Regions from separate parts of the Homo sapiens genome. Here all the other regions are linked to region 1. Evidence: promoter capture Hi-C in 16 types of primary human blood cells and fetal thymus (Javierre and others, 2016). All regions are on one chromosome and are shown on one strand. The core of a region is centred on a gene start or on the middle of the fragment in contact, and the rest is flanking DNA. Distances in the headings are between cores, read along the strand shown. Region 1 holds the start of ZCCHC12 (zinc finger CCHC-type containing 12). Region 2 has its middle 3.5 kb from the start of DOCK11. Region 3 overlaps KIAA1210.

Region 1 (4,174 bases), core at 1-2,500:
TCCTACCTGAATATCCTGCAGTACATTTTATATTTGCCCACTACCCTAAAAATAATCCTGTAGGAGATTGACACTTACAACCTCCCAGAGCTACCCGATGCCTGCGTGCTAGCAAGGTGCTTTTTGCAGCCACATCCATCCCTCCCACCAGTCCTCCAAGAGGGACGGTAACTGTTGCTTCAAATTCTAGGTGTAGCAGTGTCTGGAGCTGATATTGGGCTCTCCAAATAGAGTACAATGATCGCAGATTTGTGGAAATAAAATAAGATCTCATTAACCTCATGGTCTCTGGTCTCAACCACACCCCCTTCTCAAAGTGCCCCCCACGCCCGTCCCCCTTGTTATTTCTCAGATTCTTACACGAACTCTGAAACAAGAGCGCGTCTTTATTTCACTTCCAGCCTCTGCAACCAGTGCCCTCCGTGAGAAAGCTCCTCTCCGGGGTACGGTCAACCTCTGTCCACAGGGGGTCGCAGATCCGGGTCCTTGAGGTTTCAAGATTGCGCCACAGCGGAGAAGGCCAGAGAAGGGAAGGGTTAGAAGCAGCTTCACCCGTCATCCTGCTACCCACCACCTCCGCTGTTGCCAGGCGAAAAATTCTCTCTGCCCCCTCCTGACTATAAGCCAGAGACCAGCCCCCCACCCTCCAGCATTACATTTCCCCCGGGAAGCCGTCGGCCTACCAGCTCTGCAATCAGCTGCACAGAATTCAAGTTCAGATGCGGCTTTGATGGCCTGCCACGGAGAAAGGGAATAGGAGTTGGACACACCCACCCACATATTCCTCCCAGAAAGAGATGAGGAGATGCAAAGGATGTTCGAAGCAAACAGCTCGAGATTCCTCCCCCCGCTACTCCTCGCCTCTCCTCCCACCCCCAAATCCAGGCAAATCCTACCTAGCCCGCAGTATCCAGGTGAACCCCACCTCCTCCCTCAGCGCAGCCGGGCCACGAGAGTACTCCTACCCCTGCCTCACAGTCACCGATTCTCCAAGCTGGGAGCCGCCCAGTACTGGTGGGTCTTCCCCCACCCCTCTCCCCGCCGGGCAATCACACCCCCATTCTTTACCTGTGCTCCGCTGGTGGACAGCAGATGCTCCCGCGTCGCCAGCTGTGGATTCCGCCTTCTGGTCTCCGCCTTGCAGGCGGCAAAGAACTGAAGCCTCCTTGGCCGCTAAGCGACCCGGGGCTGCCCGAAGGAGCTGCTTCGCAGGGCCGCCCAACCAGGGGTAGCAGAGACGAGGCAGCGCCGTTCCTAAGGCAGCCGCGGCGGCTTTTATCCTCTGCCAGCTGAGACAAAAGAGCGTGACGAGCGGGCTAGTGCGGCCAATCAGCGAAGTGCGGGGGCGGACGCCCCGCACAGCCTTGGGCAGAGGCGAGTTTTCGCCTGAGGGGGCGGGGGCGCAGCAGGCCCGCGGAGCGTCAAGTGCAGCTTGATTAGACCGATGGAGCCAATCTGCCTGGGAATTTGCGACTCTTTCTTCCTCCCCCAACCCGTCCCTTCTCCCTGGGCTCAACTCTGCATCTTAGGCCAGGTGCATTAAACACGAAGTGGGTCCAAAATCAAGTGAATAATAAAAGTTCTTCACCTTGGTATAGGGAAAAGACGGGGAAGAGGGGAAGGGGCGGGAAGAGCATTAGCACGTGCATTGCGGAAACAGGCTTTCACACACATCTCCTCTTTTACTGTGAAAGAAGTAGCAGTATGTCCATTTAACAGAGAGGAGAGCTGGAGAACAAGGCTCTCAACCAATACCCATTCAAGTATGGGGGCAAGACATCAGAGTCATTTGGGGGAGCTTGTTAGAAATGCAGTCTTCTGGCCGGGAATGGTGGCTCACGCCTGAAATCCCAGCACTTTGGGAGGCCGAGGCGGGCGGCTCACGAGGTCAAGAGATCGAGACCATCCTGGCCAACATGTTGAAACCCCGTCTCTACTAAAAAGACAAAAAAAAAAAAAAAAATCAGCTGGGCATGATGGCGCGTGCCTGTAATCCCAGCTACTTGGGAGGCTGAGGCTAGAGAATCTCTCCAACCTGGGAGGCGGAGGTTGCAGTGAACCAAGATCGCACCGCTGCACTTCAGCCTGGCAAGGGAACAAGACTCCCTCTCAAAAAAAAAAAAAAAAAAAAAAAAAAAAAAAAAAAAAGGAAAAGAAAAGAAATGTAGGCTCTGGGCCCCAACTCTGGTGGATTCAGATTTACTAGGACTAGCGGTTGTGATGTGGTTTTGTATTTAGTATTTTTAACCGGCGCTGCGGTTGGTTCTGAGTTGTAGCAAGGTTTGTGAATAAGTAAATGAGCCTGTCTCCAATATCTGTCCACAGGTATCTGTGGTGAAATGCAACTCCAGAGCAGATGTGCCTACCTGGAATCCATGATCTTCCTGAAATTGTATGCAAAGATTTCGGACTCTGTATGAAGCTAAATAATGGCCACCCAAATGTATCAAGTCCTAATCCCTGAAACCTGTAAATGTTACCTTATAAAGTAAAATGGTCTTTGCAGGTGTGATTAAGTTAAGGCTTTTTGACTTAATTTTCCAGGCAGGCTGAAATCTAAACCACAAGTGCCCTTATAAAAGAGGGAGAGTTGGTGCACCAAGAAGAGAAGGCAATGACCAGAGATTAGTGATGTGGCCATAAGCAGAGGAATGCTAGCAGCCACCAGAAACTGGAAGAGGCAAGGAATAAAGCACAGTCCTACTGACACCTTGAATTCAGCCCAGAGAAACAGATGTTAAGCTTCTGGCTTCTAGAACTGTGAGAAATTAAACTTCTCTTGTTTTAAGCCAAGTTTGTGATAATTTGTTACAGTGCTGTTTTAGTCTGTTTGGGGTGCTATGGCAAAATACCATAGACTGGGTGGTTTATAAACAACAGAAATGTATTGCTCATAGTTCTGAAGGTTGGGAAGTCCAACTTCAAGGTGCCAGCAAGGTTGGTTTCTCCTGAGGCTTCTCTCCTTGGCTTGCACATGGCTGCCCTCTTGCTTGGCCATCCTCTCTGTGCATATGTGCCTCTGGGTTCTCTCAGTGTGTCCAAATTTCCTCTTCTTATAAGGACACAAGTCAGATTGGGGCCCACCCTAAGGGCCTCATTTTTACCTTAATAACCTCTTTAAAGGCCCTATCTTTAAATACAGTCACACTCTAAGGTACTGAGGGTTAGGATTACAATGAATTTGGGGGAACATAATTCAGCCTGCAGCACTCCATTTTCCCTTACTTCTGGTTCTGGGAAAGCAAGCCTTCCTTCTCTCATGTAAAGTGTGGTTAAGAGACTCCTGTGGGAACTTTGGGGGGTCAAGACCAAGTGCACTTGGACTGCCCAAGTGCAAAGGAGTTGCTTGTTCTTGACTCCTGATGTTTGGAAGTGAGTGAACAGTCTGATGCTTTTCAGCTGCTGTTAATTTCAGCTTCAGCCTGCCAAGGTACTTTACCTGCTTCTTTCTGCCTTCTTATTTCCAACTCCAATACCTAGAATTCCTTGGAGTAAACAATCTACATTTAAAGACAAAGCACCTTCATCTCAGGGGCATGACCTTTCTCTTGTGGATGGAACACTGGAATGGTGGTGGTGGTGGGTGGAGGATTTTGGAGGTGCAGAGAAGGCAGGTTGCTTACTTCACACAGTCGGGGGTGATGCTGGCAATAGCTTAGGGGTTTTCTTCAGACTCTTGCTTCTGCTCCCCAATACTATGACATCTGACCCTGGCCTCTAAGCAGAATCGTGTTCTACATTTAAATTGGCTTCATCGCCAAATCAGGTGTTCTGCAGTTGGACCTGGTGGCATCAGAAAGGACAAAGACTGTGTCTCAGAGCTGTGCAAAAAATTTTGATTGTGTAAAGTTGCCTGGGTTGCATCATCAGAACCAAGCGGAGGTCTCTTCATATAGGGCTTGGAGGAGCATTTGCTAAACTGGCTCCAGTTGGATACAGAGCATACCTTATCTCTGGCCTCATATTATAGGAGAGGGGTTGGGGGTAAGGGGGCTTCCAATTACAAGAATTCTAGCTCTGGTGGTTCTAAGGAGGCCACATTTCATTTTCCAATTGCAAAACAAAACAAAACAAAAACACACACACAAAAAACCCTTAAAATCCTTAAGATTCAGAGCCAATGCCTTCAGTTGAAAGAATAACTCCCTTTAGTTGCCTTCAACCTCTGTGCCAG
Region 2 (4,174 bases), core at 794-3,293, 330 kb after region 1:
AAAGCATATATGGAGGCTCCTAGAGGGCCTGGGACCTGGAAGTCCTCTAAAGACATTCTGTCACAAATCTTAGTTTTGCACAGTACGTGTAAAATTTGTTAATTGTTGCGTGTAGGCTGATCTCCAAGAATTCATACCCTCTGTTCCATAAATGCCTGTGTGGCTCATGCTGTTGGTTACCACCACAATAGCTATAACACTTTTTGCTTGCAAAGAGAGCCCAGATTTACTTCAGATATAGGGCAGAGCCACAGGGTTTAAGGAAGGCAGGCCCAACTCCAGGTGATGAATCATGACTGATGAAAAAACCATGATAAGCTCCCTCTTATTGACTAGTGGGATGGTCTAGACTCCCAATCGGTTTGGGCCAATAAGATATAAGAGGGAAGTGTGAGAGGAGGGTTCCTGGGAAAGTTTTTCTACCTTGATGAAAAAAAAAGGAGAGAGGCCCAGGCCCCACTTTCTTCCTGAGAGGGATGTTTTCTTGCAATGCTTTGGCCCTTGGCAGCCATATTGCAACCATGAGGCAAGGCCAAGGCAATCTCAGAGAAGCCAATGTAGAATCCAGACAGCATTGAACTGTTGAACCAGGCCTGATACTGCCTACCTCTAGTTCCTTTTTATGTAAGAAAAATAAACCCCTGCAGTTTATGACACGTTTAGATGAATATTCTGTTACTTTCAGCCAAAAGCATTCTTAGTACCACAGGCTCTATGGTAGCCACTGAAGGTGCACAGCATTGAACAAGACAGGCAAGGTCCCTCCTCTCCTGGAGCTCACATGTCAGTGCAAAGAAATGAACATGTTAATTTCAGAAACATAAATGCTATGTAGAGAATTAAGGGGAGTTGATAGAGAGTAACTGGAGTTGGGGACCTAGTTTAAAATAGATGATCAAGAAAAGCTTCTTTGAGGAGGTAAACACTGAGCTGAGTCTTAAAGAAGCAGTCAGCAGAGATCAGCAGGTAGACCATTCCAGGCGACAGAAATGCCAGGAACGAAGGCCTAGAGATGGGGGCAGACTTAGTGTGTTCAAAGACCAAAAAAAGGCCAGTGTGGCTGGAGCGTAGAAGGAAGAAGAGTGGTACAAGATAGAGTAGGAGAAGTAAGCAATTTCTGCAGAGTATTGTGAGCCATGGGAAGCATATGTCACACTGATGGTGCACAAACACCATCTGGCCATTGTGCAGGCTCTATGCTCATTCTTGAGATTGTAGATTTCACTTCTTCTGGTTTAAGACTTCTATTTAAATACATAAACATTGAGCATGGTGCTACACACTGAGGGAGAATGCAGTATGAATTAAAGACACTATTTCCTTCTGGGAAAAAAAAAAGAAAGTCTAGTAGAGAATGTATTTATGGTACAAAGTAGTATGTGATACAGACCATACTCAAGGTAAAGAGGCAGGAGAGGCCGAGCGCGGTGGCTCATGCCTGTAATCCCAGCACTTTGGGAGGCCGAGGTGGGTGGATCACCTGAGGTCAGGAGTTCGAGACCAGCCTAACCAACATGGCAAAATCCGTCTCTACTAAAAATACAAAAATTAGCCAGGTATGGTGGCAGGCACCTGTAATCCCAACTACTTGGGAGGCTGAGGCAGGAGATCACTTGAACCCGGGAGGCAGAGATTTCACTGAGCCAAGATTGCACCATTGCCCTCCAGCCTGGGCAAGAAGAGTGAGACTCCATCTCAAAAAAGAAAAAAGAAAAAAAAAAGGCAGGAGAGATCATATCTTCTTAGGTCTATGAAAGGTTTTCTGGAACAGGGGGTGTTTGAGCATTTGAGCTGGACTTTGCGGAATGGGTAGGATTTGGATATAACTGCACTCACATAGTAAAGAGAAATCGTAGGTGCAATCTTACAACTTCCAATAGGGCATTTTATTGGGCGATTTCTTTTCCACATTCGTTAAATATATTCAGTTTTTATCACAAATTTAGCTGCTGCATTAACACTATCCTAATTCTATCCTAATTGAACCTGAGATACAAGTATTAGAAATGCCATTGAGCCCTTTGACTGAGAAATTCCACTTGTATAAATCAATGCCAAATAAAAACTTGCATATGTGAGCTCAGATGCCTGTATAAGGATGGTCATTATATCAAATGTTTGTAATAGCAAAATATTAGAAAGAACCTGAATGTCCATCTAAAAGGGACTTCTTTATGATCAGTCCCTAGACCACTGCCTGGCACATTGTGAGTGCTCAAAAAATAGTTGTTCAGCGAATGAATGAATACACATGATTTATTCAAATGAAGGGACTCTCTTCAGCTATTAAAAAAAGAATGAGGTAAATATGTATGTAATTACATTGAAAAAGCTCCAAAGGATATTCACTGATAAAAGCAAGTTGCAGAACAACTCTATTTATGAAAATGTGTATGTGTGGGCCAGGCGCGGTGGCTCACGCCTGTAATCCCAACATTTTGGGAGGCTGAGGCAGGCGGATCACCTGAGGCCAGGAGTTTGAGACCAACCTGGCCAGGAGTTTGAGACCAACCTGACCAACATGGCATGGCGAAACTCCGTCTCTACTAAAAATACAAAAATTACCCAGGCGTGATGGTGTGCACCCTGTAATCTCAGCTACTTGGGAGGCTGAGGCATGAGAATGGCTTGAACCCGAGAGGTGGAGATTGCAGTGAGCCAAGATCGCTTCACTGCACTCCAGCCTGGAGGATACAGCGGGATTCTGTCTCAAAAAAAGAAAAATTTGTGTGTGTGGTGTGTGTGTATATGTATGTCCCTATACATGAGCTAATAGTGGGGGCCTCATGGGTGGGGAGTGGAAGTGGGGAGCAAGGAGACTTTAACATTTTATCATCTAAATGCTAAAGACTCTCAAATTTTTATTTCCAGCCTCAAACATCAAACTTGTATATCGAACTCAGCATCCCCACTGGGATGTCTAGTATCTCTAATTAAGCGTGCCTAAAATCGAACTCTTATTCTTTCTCCACGAATCTAGTTTTTCTATAGTTTTCTCCATCTCAGTATATGATCATTCTTTCTAGTTCCTCAGAACAAAAGCCTTAGAGTCATCTTATTACCTACACACCCTTTATCCAACCAACAGCAAAGCCTGTTGGCTCTGCCTTCAAAATACGTCTGAAATCCAACCACTTCTTAATATCTCTACCAATACCACCAGCAACCCTTACCAAGCTTATGTCAATAGCCTCTCAACTGACCTCCCTGCTTTCACCCTTACCCTCCTGTAGTCTATTTGCAACATAGCCAGTGAGTCCCACCAACCCCCTATTCAGTTTCTACTTACAGTGACCTACAATATCTAGTGTTATCTCTTGCTGTGTAACAAATTACCCCCAAGTTTAGCAGCTTAAAACAATACACATGTATTATCTCACGGTTTCTGTCGTTCAGGAATCTAAGCATGGCTTAGTTGGGTTGTCCAGACCAGAGTCTCTCGCTAGGCTGCCATCAAGGTATGAGTTCAGGATCTCTCATAGGCTATGATCAAGGTGTCAGAGCAGGGGCCTCACCCATCTCAAGGTTTAACTGGGGCAGAATTTGTTTTTAAGCCCATTCACTGGTTGTGGCAGCATCCAGATCCTCACAGGTTGTTGTAGTAAGGGCCTTAGTTCCTTGCTGGCTGTCAGCCAGAGGTTGGCCTCAGTTCCTTGCCTCATGAGCTTCTCCAGAAGGCAGTTAATAACATGGCAGTTTACCAAAGTGAGCAAACAGGGCCAGGCGCAGTGGCTCACGCCTGTAGTTCCAGCATTTTGGGAGGCCAATGTGGGTGGATCACTTGACGTCAGGAGTTCAAGACCAGCCTGGCCAACATGGTGAAACCCTGTCTCTACTAAGAATACTAAAGTTGGCAGGGTGTGGTGGTGCATACCTGTAATCCCAGCTACTCAGGAGGCTGAGGTGAGAGGATCACTTGAACCCAGGAGGTGGAGGTTGCAGTGAGCCAAGATCCCACCACTGCATTCCAGCCTGGGCAACAGAGTGAGATTCTGTCAAAAAAAAAGAAAGAAAGAAAGAAAAGAAAAGAAAAGAAAAAGAAAAAAAAGTGAGCAAACAAGAGAGAGTTGAAAGAGTGAAAGACTACCTGCAATTGGAATCCACAGTCTTTTATAACCTAAACTTGGAAGTGGCATCCCATCAATTTTACTGTATTTTATTCACTAGGTCCAGC
Region 3 (4,174 bases), core at 574-3,073, 270 kb before region 1:
ATAAAAGAAGAGCTTTTAGTCTATACACTGATATCAAATTTATATTTCCAGTAGATAACATAATCTAACTAGATGATATCAGGAAGAGGCAGTATATAAATTCATAGATGAAAGTTGCACAAAGAAGTAAAGGAAATCTTGGGATCAATCCTACTTTTGTGTGATTGATCCCACAAAAGTCAACTGTACTATTTCTCTGTCTTCTCCCTGAATCCAAAACTGAATGGTCTGCAGGATTTGTCATCAGCCTGACTCATTAGCACTGCGTTAAGTCCCCATGCACTGGAATGACAGTGCCATCTTCATAACCAAGATAGTAGCTAAGGTTATCACTGCATCAACATACAATGGTGGTGGGAACCATGAAGGCATGTGAAAGCTGCAAGTACCAAGGGGATACCTGGCACTTTGCAAAACTAGCCTGAAGAGAACTTAGTGGGTAAACACAATGGGAGATTCTGTCTACTTGCTAAATTATAATATATGGTTTGCTACTAGTATCTAGCAGAGACAGTTTATCAGCTGATCTTCAAAGGGCCTTCTGCTAACAGAAATCGAAATCTTCTTAGAAATGGAAAGAGCTCTGGGGAGGCTCTTTGAGATATGGAAAATGCTATGTCCAGAAGCCCAGAGGAGACTATTTTGAAGATCCTACAGAGGAATTCAACTAGGTGTCCCAGAACCAAATAGTATGGAGATATGGAGGCCAGCCATAATGAGGACAGGGTTACAGGCTCCATCACTATCCCACTGGAGGTTAGAGCATTCAGTTCCTGAGGGTCCTCCCATCAGTCTTGCACCCATGAACTGTCAATATAAATAAAAGGTAGTGTGCTGTCTATGAAAATGCACCTTGCAGACAGGCCCTCTTCCAACCTGATTTTCCTCCCTCCACCCAACCCTCCAATATAGAAATCCCAGAGCTCTGCTGGGTTTCACTGATACCAATTGTTCCTCTCACCCCAGCCAGATGTCCTGTTGATAAGAAGGGGATCTAGGACAAGAGAACATGCAATCTCTCTGACTTTGCAAACTCAATTAAGTGGTTGTGTTCCCATCCCAAGGACAATGGGGTGCCCCTGAAAGCTTTCTAAGCAGAGGAGTAACCCAAACTTCTTCCTGTTTCTTGTTTTCATCTGCAAGAAAACCAGTAAAATTATGGAGCTTACCTCTAATGAATAAGCCCATTGACAGGAAATGTAGGAAAGGGGACAATAGTTCATGAAGGATTTCTTCTTTGGGAATTCTTCAGCCGGAAGAATATCCAACTTTTGAGACCAGTAACAGCATACGGGTTGACTCGTCTATTTTCTCCCACCTTCCCCAGAGCTTCTCTGAGTTATCATCTGGACCTGATTGCTCACAGTCCTTGACTGCATTTGCCACACTTGCCTCTACCAGTAGCACCCAGCTGCCCATTGGTTTCAGCACCCCAGCCACCACCCAGGGCTGTTTGGATTCTTCAGCTGCTCGCCACAAAATGACTTTAAATCCCCGCAAACAAAAGAAGAACCTTCAAGTGATTGTAAGTCCTTCAAGAGACAGGGCACTAAACTCCTGTATAAGAAAAGATGAGTTCCAACCTTTGCAAACTACTACTAGGGAAATAGTATGGTGTAGGAGACTCATGCCCTAAGTAAGCTTGGCAAGGTCAAGGGTGCTGTCCTAAGCTTGACACCCCCAGAGGGGTGAGCAAGCTTGCATCTGCTGGGTGTGGTTTCCTATCCATGTGGAACTTATATTAGAAGGGACTAAAAGGAAGCAGAAACAGTAAATGATTTAAACCCCCATAAACTGCTTATTGGGCTAACATCTGGGAGTTCACTCAGCCCTATTTGTAGAGAATATTCAACCCTAGCCCAGATCAGGATTCTTTCAGTTATTAATCAGATGAGACCCATGAGTCACAAATTGCAGCACTATTCCACTTATTTGGAGATCAAGCTTTCAGCAACCCTAAACATCCAGAACTTAGTTGTTAACCCATCCAAAGATCTCCAAATAGATGCCACATGACTTTCCAGGAAGCAGACCTACTGTGTTAAAAACATGGCCACAGATTAGACTCAGACCTGACAGCAAAGAGAAGTGACAGCTGGTAGCAGACAGAATGACAGAAACAATCTGGGGCCATTTAATATAGGGGCTCAAGAACCTTGCCCACCTCAATATGTCCTTCAGGGCCACACTATATCATAGTCCAATGTAATAGATAATTTTATTATTTGTCCAAGTCATCTAGAAAAAGTAGATTATTTTCCGTGATCCCTGTTTAAAAAGATAGAGAAATAATGCTTTTGGAAAAGGCTTTTAGTAAAAGTTAAGGATTAGGGCTGGGTGCAATGGTTCATGCCTGTAATCCCAGCACTTTGGGAGGCCAAGGCGGGCGGATCACCTGAGGTCAGGAGTGTGAGACCAGCCTGACCAACATGCAGAAACCCCGTCTCTACTAAAAATACAAAATTAACCAGGTGTGGTAGCACATCCCTGTAATCCCAGCTACTCTGGAGGCTGAGGCAGGAGAATTGCTTGAACCCGGGAGGTGGAGGTTGTGGTGAGCCGAGATTGTGTCATTGCACTATAGCCTGGACAAGAGCAAAACTCCGTTTAAAAAAAAAAAGTTAAAAAATGTTAGTGTTTAGTGTTTAAAACGATGTGTCAGTTGTCTATAAAACTCACTTTGATCAAAAACTGAATTCGCCAGTGATTCTGGGCTGAAAGGAAGAGACTGTAAATCAGAGGTGAAGTGACTAAAAGATTGTATAGTACAAACATTTTACAGAGAAGGGCATTAAAGCACAAATAATTTCAGATACTTACCCAAAGTCAAACACCCAGGTGATAGCAGAGCTAGGGCCAGAATCCAGTCTTCTGACTTCCAGCTCAACACTTTTTTCATCCCACCATCTTGCCTCTAGCTTAGGCATCTCAATTTCACTTTAGGTTTTAGACAAAATACGAGTTGAAAGAACAGGTGGAGGAGCAGGGCGGCAGAGGGAAGCCCTCTGGTGGCCTTGAGAGTACCTTGTTAGTTTGGTGTCAAAGAAGGGGTGACCAATTACTAGGTGCCAAACCCTATACATGCATTATCCCCTGAATACCTCACCACAAACCTGGGAGATGGAGAAGGTTGGCTGAGGGAAGCAGTATGACCCTTCTAACTTTCTTCTTTCTGTATAGCCTAGTTGAGAAAAAGCCCGGGCATTACCCTCTGAGAAGGCCAGAGCATCCACTTCTTCCCTGTGACTCTCTCTCTGACATGTGGATGAACATAAAAAAGATCCAGGATCATTTATGACACAGGGACTACTACCACTTTCTCCCTGCTCTGTAATTTCTTAGATCTACAAGTCCCACAGGAGGTTTCTCCTGGTCCCTTATTTATTGATGTAGACACAGTGATTCAGAGAATAACTTGCCCAAGGTCACGCAGCAAGTAAATGATGAAGAGATTTTGAATCCAGGCCAATCTGACCACGTTTACTCAAAAATAAATTATTATGAGCTGTGTCTGTTTGCACAGGCACTTTGAGTGGGAGTGTAAAGAGTTACATGTTTGTCTTTACATGCATGCCATAAAGGCTTACACTAAGCAAATTCCGGACACTGTTCAGTGCAGTGCTATGCTGACATTTCCAGAGCTGTATTGTAATTATCAGAAAACCTTATTTATACTAAACCAACTTCAGCCCATCCAGTGTAAGGGCTGAACCTTTCAGCTTTTTCTCCTTTCCCTCCCAACAAAACCCCAATTCTTTTTCTTCTTTTGATCTGGAAAGAGATAATTCATGCTTTCATTACATTCCCTGAAAAGAAGCCAAAAAGGATTTGAATTTGACTCACAGGTCTGGTGAAGCAAATCGGAGAATCCCAATATGGCCGAGGGCATGATTGTTGTCAGGCCCAATGACCCCGTTTTCAGATTCGTGGCCTTCCAGTGTGGTTCAGTCATTTCCAGGGTATTTTAGAGGGATCCCTGCAGTGTGTCACTCAGACATTAGAAACTCCAAACCTGGATGAACCACTTCCAGTAGGTAAAATGATCCCCAAGGATCTCTTGGTGGAAACAATTCCATTAAGAAATCCCTGGAAATATCTCCATTGAAATAACGTCCATCTTTAAAGGTACTGTTACGTGCCCAGCATCAAGAACTTTTTTCCTGATGCTTTTTCT

What was found. The method cuts DNA at HindIII sites, captures the fragments that hold promoters and counts their contacts. A CHiCAGO score of 5 or more calls a contact.
Region 2: a contact is called between a fragment that was not itself captured here and the fragment with the promoter of ZCCHC12 in region 1, in 1 of 17 cell types (monocytes). The highest score is 6.3, in monocytes.
Region 3: a fragment that was not itself captured here is called in contact with the fragment with the promoter of ZCCHC12 in region 1 in 1 of 17 cell types (M1 macrophages); the score reaches 6.0 in M1 macrophages.

The regions. Positions count from the first base shown.
Region 1 is chrX:118,820,900-118,825,073 of GRCh38, reverse strand. It overlaps ZCCHC12 (zinc finger CCHC-type containing 12), which reads right to left and starts at 1,250. Exons shown (of 4, transcript NM_173798.4): 1 at 1,069-1,250; 2 at 684-735; 3 at 361-485. The HindIII fragment of the contact is 2,857 bases long and covers 1-2,744 here.
Region 2 is chrX:118,490,214-118,494,387 of GRCh38, reverse strand. No RefSeq gene overlaps it. Among named protein-coding and RNA genes, the nearest start is that of DOCK11, 3.5 kb to the left of the region's middle. The HindIII fragment of the contact is 2,272 bases long and covers 908-3,179 here.
Region 3 is chrX:119,093,845-119,098,018 of GRCh38, reverse strand. KIAA1210 reads left to right here. Exons shown (of 12, transcript NM_001394962.1): 7 at 1,328-1,525. Among named protein-coding and RNA genes, the nearest start is that of CT47C1, 23 kb to the right of the region's middle. The HindIII fragment of the contact is 247 bases long and covers 1,700-1,946 here.